Linked DNA regions of Homo sapiens: all the other regions are linked to region 2. Evidence: promoter capture Hi-C in 16 types of primary human blood cells and fetal thymus (Javierre and others, 2016). All regions are on one chromosome and are shown on one strand. Each heading gives the region's core, a stretch centred on a gene start or on the middle of the fragment in contact. The rest is flanking DNA. Distances are from core to core; before and after follow the strand shown.

The links. Contacts are between HindIII fragments. The CHiCAGO score rates a contact against its expected background, and 5 or more counts as called.
Region 1: a contact is called between a fragment that was not itself captured here and the fragment with the promoter of IL2RB-AS1 in region 2, in 1 of 17 cell types (total CD8 T cells). The highest score is 5.3, in total CD8 T cells.
Region 3: a contact is called between a fragment that was not itself captured here and the fragment with the promoter of IL2RB-AS1 in region 2, in 8 of 17 cell types (activated CD4 T cells, total CD8 T cells, M1 macrophages and 5 more). The highest score is 10.4, in activated CD4 T cells.

Annotation. Positions count from the first base shown.
Region 1 is chr22:37,279,739-37,282,491 of GRCh38, forward strand. No RefSeq gene overlaps it. Among named protein-coding and RNA genes, the nearest start is that of CYTH4, 1.4 kb to the right of the region's middle. RefSeq lists an enhancer at 2,529-2,578. The HindIII fragment of the contact is 686 bases long and covers 1,161-1,846 here.
Region 2 is chr22:37,165,436-37,168,271 of GRCh38, forward strand. It overlaps IL2RB-AS1 (IL2RB and C1QTNF6 antisense RNA 1), which reads left to right and starts at 1,324. Exons shown (of 2, transcript NR_199008.1): 1 at 1,324-1,529. It also overlaps a transcript of IL2RB not described here. RefSeq lists an enhancer at 1,495-1,544. The HindIII fragment of the contact is 5,870 bases long and covers 1-2,391 here.
Region 3 is chr22:37,054,585-37,057,517 of GRCh38, forward strand. KCTD17 (potassium channel tetramerization domain containing 17) reads left to right here. Exons shown (of 9, transcript NM_001282684.2): 3 at 1,736-1,827; 4 at 2,814-2,909. It also overlaps the pseudogene RN7SKP214. Among named protein-coding and RNA genes, the nearest start is that of KCTD17, 4.3 kb to the left of the region's middle. The HindIII fragment of the contact is 5,049 bases long and covers 1-2,933 here.

The DNA of each region.
Region 1 (2,753 bases), core at 254-2,753, 110 kb after region 2:
ATGCCAAACCGTGGCCTGGTCAAGACACATTTACTGGATCAGCCGCAAGATCAGGCAGCCTTCCCCAAGGCCATCCCAGGTTCAGTGGTTTACTAGGTGGACTCCCAGGACTCAGCTCATGGTCATACTTACGGCTATGATCTATGGCAGTGAAAGGACTCAAAGCAGAATCCGCAAAGGCGCCGTGGCGAAGTCCAGAGGAAACCAGGGGCAGCTTCCAAGAGTCTGCTCCCAAAAGAGTCACACGGGACACGCTCAATTCCTCCAGCAACAAGTCGTGAAAGCACCTGTGAGATGGGATGCTGCCAGGGACGCTAGGCAAATAGGTTAGGCCCAGTAAGCCACTCTCATCAGTTAGGGTGGTGGGAGCCCTCCCCAAATCCAAGCTCCCAGGTGCCAGCCAAGGGTCAACTTTGCAAGCATGACTTTCTAAAGATAGCAGTCTCCGGCCTGCAGTGTGAAGTCTTTCTGCACAGGGAATTATATATACCTTTCTCCATATTTCTAGGGGTTATTTTGTTTGTTTTGTTTTTTCTTTTGTTTTGTTTTTGGAGACGGAGTCTCACTCTGTTGCCAGGCTGGAGTGCAGTGGCGCGATCTCAGCTCACTGCAACCTCCGACTCTCTGGTTCAAGTGATTCTCCCGCTTCAGCCTCCCAAGTAGCTGGCATTATAGGCACCCGCCACCATGCCCAGCTAATTTTTGTATTTTTAGTATAGACGGGGTTTCACCACGTTGGCCAGGATGGTCTTGATCTCCTGACCTTGTGATCCACCCGCCTCGGCCTCCCAAAGTGCTGGGATTACAGGCATGAGCCACTATGCCCAGCCCACATTTCTAGTTTTAAAATGGCCAAGGGCATGGTTTGTGGTGCCTCAGGCCCAAAGCAGTTGAGAAAAATCTAGTTTACCATGGAAATAATTGTAACAAGTTTTCCAGAAAAGAACCATGAGTTATACAAGAACCCAGGTGGAGGCAGGGCAGGGGAGAAGCAGCGGGGTTCAAAAATCCTGAGCACACTAGACGGGGACTTAGTAGGCCTGGCTTCTGGGCCTGAATTGGCACTCACTCAAGTTCCAACTTGGTCAAGTGTTTCCCAGAAATAAGCCTCAGTTTTCTCTCCGAGGAAATGACAGCATTGGATTTCTTCTGTATCAGCAAGCTTTGGCTGCATAACAAAGCATCCCAGAAGTTGGTGGCTTAAACCACAAAAATGTATTATTTCCCACAGTGCTATGGGTCAGCAGTTTGGGTGGGACTCCGCTTGATGGTTCTTCTTCTGGTGTCCCCTGGCCTCACTGATGAGGCAGCAACCAGGGGACAGCCAAGACAGCCCAGCCTATCTCCTTGTGGTCCTCCGTCTTCCAACAGGCTAGCCCAGGCTTGTTCTCATGGTAGCCAGGCAGGGGGCTGAGAGCAAGAGCAGGAGCTGCAAGGCCTTTTAAAGCTCAGCCTCGAACATCACGGCACATCATTTCTGCCACGTGCTATTGGTCAAAGAGATGCCCAAGGCCAGCTCAGCTTCCAAGGAAGGAGAAATGGACTTCGCCCCTTGACAGCAGAAGCGGCGGCATAGTGAAAAGGAGGTGAACTTGTAGCTAGCTTTCACATCGGCCGTGATCTCTTCCATGTTCCCTTCATTCATTCATTCATTCATTCATTTGTTCATTCATTCCACACTTGCACACCCTCTATGTCCCCAGCATTTTACCACACACCAGAACACAAAAGGTAACCTTGCCCTCATGGGGCCTGGAGAGTAATGGGGAAACAGATGAATAACTCTGCATGTGTCCTGAAGTTATAGGGAATTCACATTTAATTTATACCTGTTTCTTTACAGCAAAGCTTTTTGCAGAAAGGATTTGAACCAACCTGCCAGAAAAGGCACAAGGAATAACATGATACATTTTAACCAAAGAAGATAATTAAAATCAAAGGAGAAAGTGTTTATTGAGCACCTACTATGTCCCAAGCATCTCCGACACATCCTCTCACTCCATGGTTTCCATATCCCCGAGTTAGTGTTATTCCCCTTTCAGAGATAAGCAAAGCGAGGCTGACTAGCCCTAGCTGAGAGTCAAACAGCTGAGTCAGGCCCCAAAGTTCACATGACATCATAGAATAGCTGTCGATGAGCTTTGGATTTGACGATGAGTTTCCCAGCAGCCTGGGGGAGAAGGAAAGTGGAACATATTACCCGATTGTTCACTAGACAAGAAAAAGCCAGATATTTCTTTGAAGGGAAGCAAAGCCCTTCCTAGCAGTGAATTCATTTGTCTCTTCTCAAGTGGGAGTTGGAAGAGAGCTTGTGGGGTGGAACACAGGGGGCCCTGCTAGGACTGTCCAAGTTGGGCGCTCCTATGGCATATATGTGAGGAGGCTGCCACGTGAATGCCCATGGTCCCCTGGAAAATGTTCGTCCTCAGTGAACATCGCCCTCGGTGTCTGTGCATGTGTACGTGTGTATGTGCATATGTGTCTGTGTGTTTCTTTCTGTCTCACTGTCTTTCTCTTTTTTATCTGGCCCTCCCCTCACTTCATCTGTTTGTTTGTTTGTTTGTTTGTTTGTTTCCACCTCTGTCCCTCCCTGGCAAAAGTCCCTGCTGCTCAAAACTCTGCCAGTTTTTAGGAAGTGCTGTTTTGTCAAAAGCCTGCACACGAGACCCCCGTGGGCCAGGACTGACTTCCTCCCCACACAGGGCTGGGCGGGGCAAGCAGGAAGGAGCCTGTTACAGTCAAGGTGACGCATC
Region 2 (2,836 bases), core at 74-2,573:
CAGCATGGAGCGTTTGTCAAGCGTCTGTATTATCCTGGCTCAGGGCTGGGAGTTATAGCAGCCACAAAAGATGCCCAAGACTCCACCCAGCCCTCAAGGAGCCCAGAGTTTAGCTGCAGGGACAGGAAATAGGCATGGGAACGAATGCAATATAATCACAGCTAAAGTTTGTATGAGATGTGCAGATGCTCCTGGGCAGCTGCCTCTTCAGGGCAGGCTTCATGGAGAAGAGGGCTTTTTTTAAAAATTTAATTTAATTTAATTTAATTTAATTTTATTATTGTTTGTGGGGTTGGGGGAGGAGGGGAGAAGAGGGCTTTGAGCCAGGCCTACCCAGGGCAAGTGCCAGAAGGACAGAGGCGGGGAGGACACAGGTGCAGACCGGCCTAAAGCAGACACTTGGAGCTGAAAACATCCTGAATCCAACCGTCCACAACTCCCCTCTACAGCATCTCCTCAAGAGGGCCAGACTCCCCTGAATTCTCCCTACGGCAAGGAAGTCATTCCTCGCCAGGGGAGCGAGATCATGGCCTGTCTGGTGTGCACGTGTGTGTGTCTTTGCCACAGGTGTGTTCTTTCCAGAACTCCTGTGAACAGGTGGGCCTCCTTTGTGCAAACCTGAGCCATGCACATCCAGCTCAGCTGATAGCTGGGCCAGGAGAGGTGACCTCACCGCCCATGCTCAAGGTCTCTCTGTTGCACTGGACAGGGCCCCTCCAGCCTTAGGCCCTTGAAGTCCTGGCTCCTTGGAAATGCCCCTGCTACTGGGGGGACCCTCAACTGCACCAAAGGACCGCAATGGAAAGGGGGCACTCAGCGCCAGAGCCTCCCCGCCCCCCCACCTCCTGCCGAGAGGAAGCCCAAAACTGGCACATCCACACACACAGCCACACGCCCCCTTTGAAGGCACTGCACCGCTGCGTGTGTTGTACACGGAGCCTGCGCTTCCTGGGCCAGAAGTGAAGCTAAGATGCACTCCACGCATTCAACCGTTGAACCCTCATTGCAGCCACCAGAGTTCTGTGCCACCCCTGCTCCGTTCCCGCGGTGGAGGGAGGACGCCTAGGCCTTGGGAGGGATCGGGAGCGCGTAGAGTGACACCCTGGGCTCCACATCCACGACACCTTCTCCCCCATCTGGACTGCCCAACTACTTCATGCCTACCTCGGGACTTTGCATGCAAAAGGCGCTCAATCATCCCTTCAAGAATAATTGAGTTAGAAAACAGCAGGGCACAATGACAGGTGGGCCCAGAAGTTGCCACCAGAGGGCAGTGCGCGCACCTCCCCAGCCTCCTCGAGACTTGTGCTGCAGGAGGGAGGTGAAGTCGCGGCCAGGAGCGTGACCACGCTGGACCGTGTCTGCTGCCTCCCCGGGAGTCGCAAGTGCCCACAGGACAAGCAGGGGAAGCAAACTGGGCCCCTGGCTTCTGGGAAGACAGCATGAGGGCAGACCAAGGAAAGGCAGCCGAGACCAGCAGACCTGCAAGGGATCTCGGAGGCTCTCAGGCCCAGCTGCTTGCTGAATAGGTAATGATGCATCTGGGCCCAGAGAGAGGCAGCTCTCAGCCTTAGGTCACACAGCAGGGCAGGAGTGTGAACTCTGGCCTCCAGCCTCCGAGGTCCCCTCATCCCACCTAACCCCCAGACTCAGAGAAGGACACTCCACCCAAGCAATTTCTCACCTTCCCCTTAATTGGTACAGATCAGAAACGGGAGCACCTCCTTCTCCTGGCCCCCACGTTTAGGGTTCCCAGGACAGCCTCCGACCCACCCTCTGCCCCTCCTGTATCCCTTTCCTCGGCCCTGGGTGACAGCACCCCTGCCCAGACCAGCTCTGACTGCCTCCAAGTGCCAAGCGCTCACAGTCCTCTACCCCCAGCCCCAGCCGGCACCCTCAGTCTCGTCCCACCATCTCTCTGCCTCCTGAGTCCCTCCCTGAGTCCCATGCCCTCTGCCCCAGCGACTGCCCTTGTAAAGTGAAAATCCGACCCCACCCAACATTTCCTGCTGCACTTATGCAGTATCCAGGCCTCCTCGCCATGGAAAGCCCAGGCCTGCGGCCTCTCTGGCTTCTTCTCTCCCTTGCCCCACTGCCCCTGGCTGTCTGGCAGTTCCTGGAAGTCTCCAAGCTCTTCCCTGCCTCGAGCCCCTGCCCACGTTCTCTCTGCCCCAGGCCTCAGCCTGCGGTCACTTTCTCAGGGCAGCTTTCCCAGCACCCCGTGCATCTAAAGTGGATGCTGCCCTGCCCATCACTGGATCAGGTGCTCATATTCCTAATTGACTGGGCATAGGTGGGAGGATTTGCCTGGTGTCTGTCTTCCTGGCTGGACTGCGGTGCCTCAAGGCCACAGGTGAAGTGCATGGAGTCCCACAGCTTCTCTGAGCCTAAAGCTTTGTGTGACAAATGCATTCAAACTGCATTTATTGAAAGATGGGAAGCAAGGGAGGAAGGGAAGGGGTGCGGGAGGGAGGGAGGACAATCTTGGTGTTGGGCTGAGGTGGCGTCTGTCCCCTTTGCATGAGTTCAGTAAGGATTTACTGAGCACCTGCTGGCAGCAGCATGCTGGGCACTGTGGGAATGACAAGGATGTGTGGGATTTGAACTCTAACTCAGAGTACCTTCTCTTGGTATGGAGGTAGGACAAGTATGCAAATGATTATAACTAAGGAAATCGTGTCAATGTGGTGACCCTTGGCCTGAACTTTCAGAACAGTCCTGGTATCACGTGAGAAGAGTAAATACATGTGATTTGATTCTAAACTGGCTAAGACGTTATTAAAGAAAGTAACAAGACAGAAAAAATACTTTTTCAGGCTGTCTGTGCAGTTTTGTC
Region 3 (2,933 bases), core at 93-2,592, 110 kb before region 2:
CTGTGTGACACTGAGAAAGTGACCTAACCCCTCTGTGTCTGCATGCCCCCATCTGTGAAATGGGGGACCATAGCACCCACCTCACCGAGCTGTCATGAGGATAAAAGGAGTTAATAGTGCAGCATGGAGCTCAGTTCCTGGCCGGAGGATGTGGGATGCAGTGCTAGCTGTCTGTCACCTGCAGGGCTCCGCCCAGGGCACTGGGGATAATTCTCGTAATCAGGCAGCTGCACTCCCTGACCTCCTGCTCTGTGTTTGGTCCTGTGTGGGCACCGGGGACAGAGGGCAGATCAGAAATGTGAGCCCCATCTTAGCCATTTCAGGCTGCAATCATGAAGTAACATAGATTGGGTGGCTTATGAAAATCAGAAATTTATTTCTCTTGGTCCTAGAGGCTAGAAACCCGAGATCGGGGCACTGTGGCAGGTTCTGGTGAGGACTTTCTTCCGGATTGCAGACTGCTGACTTCTCGTTGTGTCCTCACATGGCAGAAAGAGAGGGAGCTAGCCCTCGCCCGCCCCTTCTCGAGAGCTTGTTTGGAGGTTCTAGCAGGGGAGCGCAGCTACTCACATACCCTTGACCAAAGTCCGGTCCTCCTCTATCGGGGGTGGTCGCCCCCTTCGATGGAGCTCACAGCTTCGGGAGGGACACACCTGGAGCAGTGAGGGAGGAAGGGGACACACATCTAGCCAGCCAGATCAGCTAAATCAACCCTGGTGATCAGTGGAGTGACAGATGTCCCCGCCAGATCGCCCTCACATCCAATTAGCCTTTCTTATAAGAAGACTGATCCTACCCTGGGGACTCTACCCCCATGATCTCATTACCTCCCCTCCTAATCCCATCACAGTTTTCAGCAGGTGGATTTTTGGGGAACACACACATTCTGCTCATAATGAGCTCTGTCCCCAGGGAGCCCAGAGGCCAGTCAAGGAAAGGGCCCAAAGGTCCCCTGCCTTCTGGGAGCCTAGGGGAGTCGAAACAGCTGCAAGCTCATCGCTTCACTGGTGGGCTGACTTCTTCATCTCCCAGATTAACTTAACTGTAAGATGGGGACAGTAATGCCTGCTCTCCTCATATCCCTGGACTTGTGATGAGCTCGTGCAGGGTGTTGCAAACTGTAAGGTGAGGCAGTTGGGGGAATGCATGGACACAAGGGTATGTGCTTACAGTGGGGAGACATGGGCTCTGGAGTCTGCAGCGCTTGAGTTCCCTCTGGCACTTACCAGCTGTGTGACCTTGGACAAGCTGCTTCTCTTTGGGAGCCTCAGTTTTCCCAGTTGTTCAATGCAGATGATGAAAGTACCTCCTTCTAGTTCTGAGAATTCAAAAATGTAATGCACCTGGCACTTAGAATGTGCTTAATAAATAGGAGCACATAATCAGGGGTCAGGCAAGGCCCTGCTCATGGTGACATTCTGGGGATCAGTCCCAATGACCCTGCTGTCTCTTGATAGCCCTAAAGCTGCCCCAGACGGTGGCCTGGCAGGTACCCCTGGGTCACCGCACTCAGCACAGCAGAGCTGTGTGGCAGCCCCTCAGCCCCTTCCACAGGAAGTGTGGGATCCAAGGAAAGAAATGCTCCCTCTTACTTGACCCCTGAACTCACAGACACTCAGCTCACCCTCAGGGCGGGTGATCAGAGCGAGAGGTGGGTTTCGGGGTGGAGGGAACAAGAGGAGAATGGGGCATGGAGGCAGAAGGAGTGACCTGGGATCTGTTCTGTCTGTGCCAGGGGTCCTGGAGGAAGCCGAGTTCTACAACATCGGCCCGCTGATCCGCATCATCAAAGACCGGATGGAAGAGAAGGACTACACGGTCACCCAGGTCGGGAGCAGGGGCAGCACACACGGCCAGGGCAGGGGCCAGTGGGGAGAGAGAGGCTGAGAGACGGGGCGGGAAGCAGAGGAGGTTGGGAGAGACAGGACCAGTGTTTGTCATGGGGAGGCCGAGCTGGCCTGTAAGGAGAGGCATGGTTGGGCTGACAGGCTGCCCAGCACAGCCCCAGACTCGGAGACGGACACTGGGGTTCAGTCCCTGTCTCAGCCCCATTTGCTGTGTGTTGGGCCAGGCTCGCCCTCTCCGGACCTTGATTTTCTCTTATGGGATAGAGAGGGGTGGGAATGGCACACCCATCCCTTCCTCATAGGCAGAAGGGGGTCAGTGTGGAGGTACAGGGTGCCCTGCAGAGGAAAATGCAGGATTAGCAAATTGTGCCTTTTGTGGCATCAGATGGTCGCCTGGTGGGCTCGGCACAGGCTGTTGGGGCTGGCGTTTGTGACCTTGGAGCCTGGGCCTCCCTGGCCAGTCTGCAGGAGGAGGGAAAGAGATTTTCCGCCTACTCTGGGGGATGTGTGAGGGTTGGGGGACAGGTAGTGAGGAACCATTTCTCAGGCCCAGGGGATTAAAGAGGGGAGGCTCCGTGTCTCCTTGAGGGCCTGACTCCTTGAGGGTGACCCAGAATGTTCCCTAAGCCCCACCCATGTTCTTTCTTGAATTACCCGTGTTCCGGTTCTGTCTCCTTCACCCTTGAGCTGGGTGACCTTGGGCAAGTAACTGGACCTCTCTGAGCCTCAATGGAAAGTCCCGTAATGCCTAGGATTCTTGGAAGGATTAAGTGAGATGGTGCCTGGTAAATGCCTGGTGAGGAGCAGGTGCTCAGAGCATGGCTGCCTCCCCCCAACCACCTCTTCTTTCTCTCCCTCTCTTCTTCTTTGGGTATGTTGCGGGGGTGGTGGCAGCAGGTGCTCATGCCCCTCCTGGGGTGCCTGGTGCTCCCACAGGTGCCCTCTATGTGACCCTTCTGCCCACAGGTCCCACCCAAGCACGTGTACCGCGTGCTGCAGTGCCAGGAGGAGGAGCTCACGCAAATGGTCTCCACCATGTCTGATGGCTGGCGCTTCGAGCAGGTGCGCTGGGGACAGGGGCGTGCC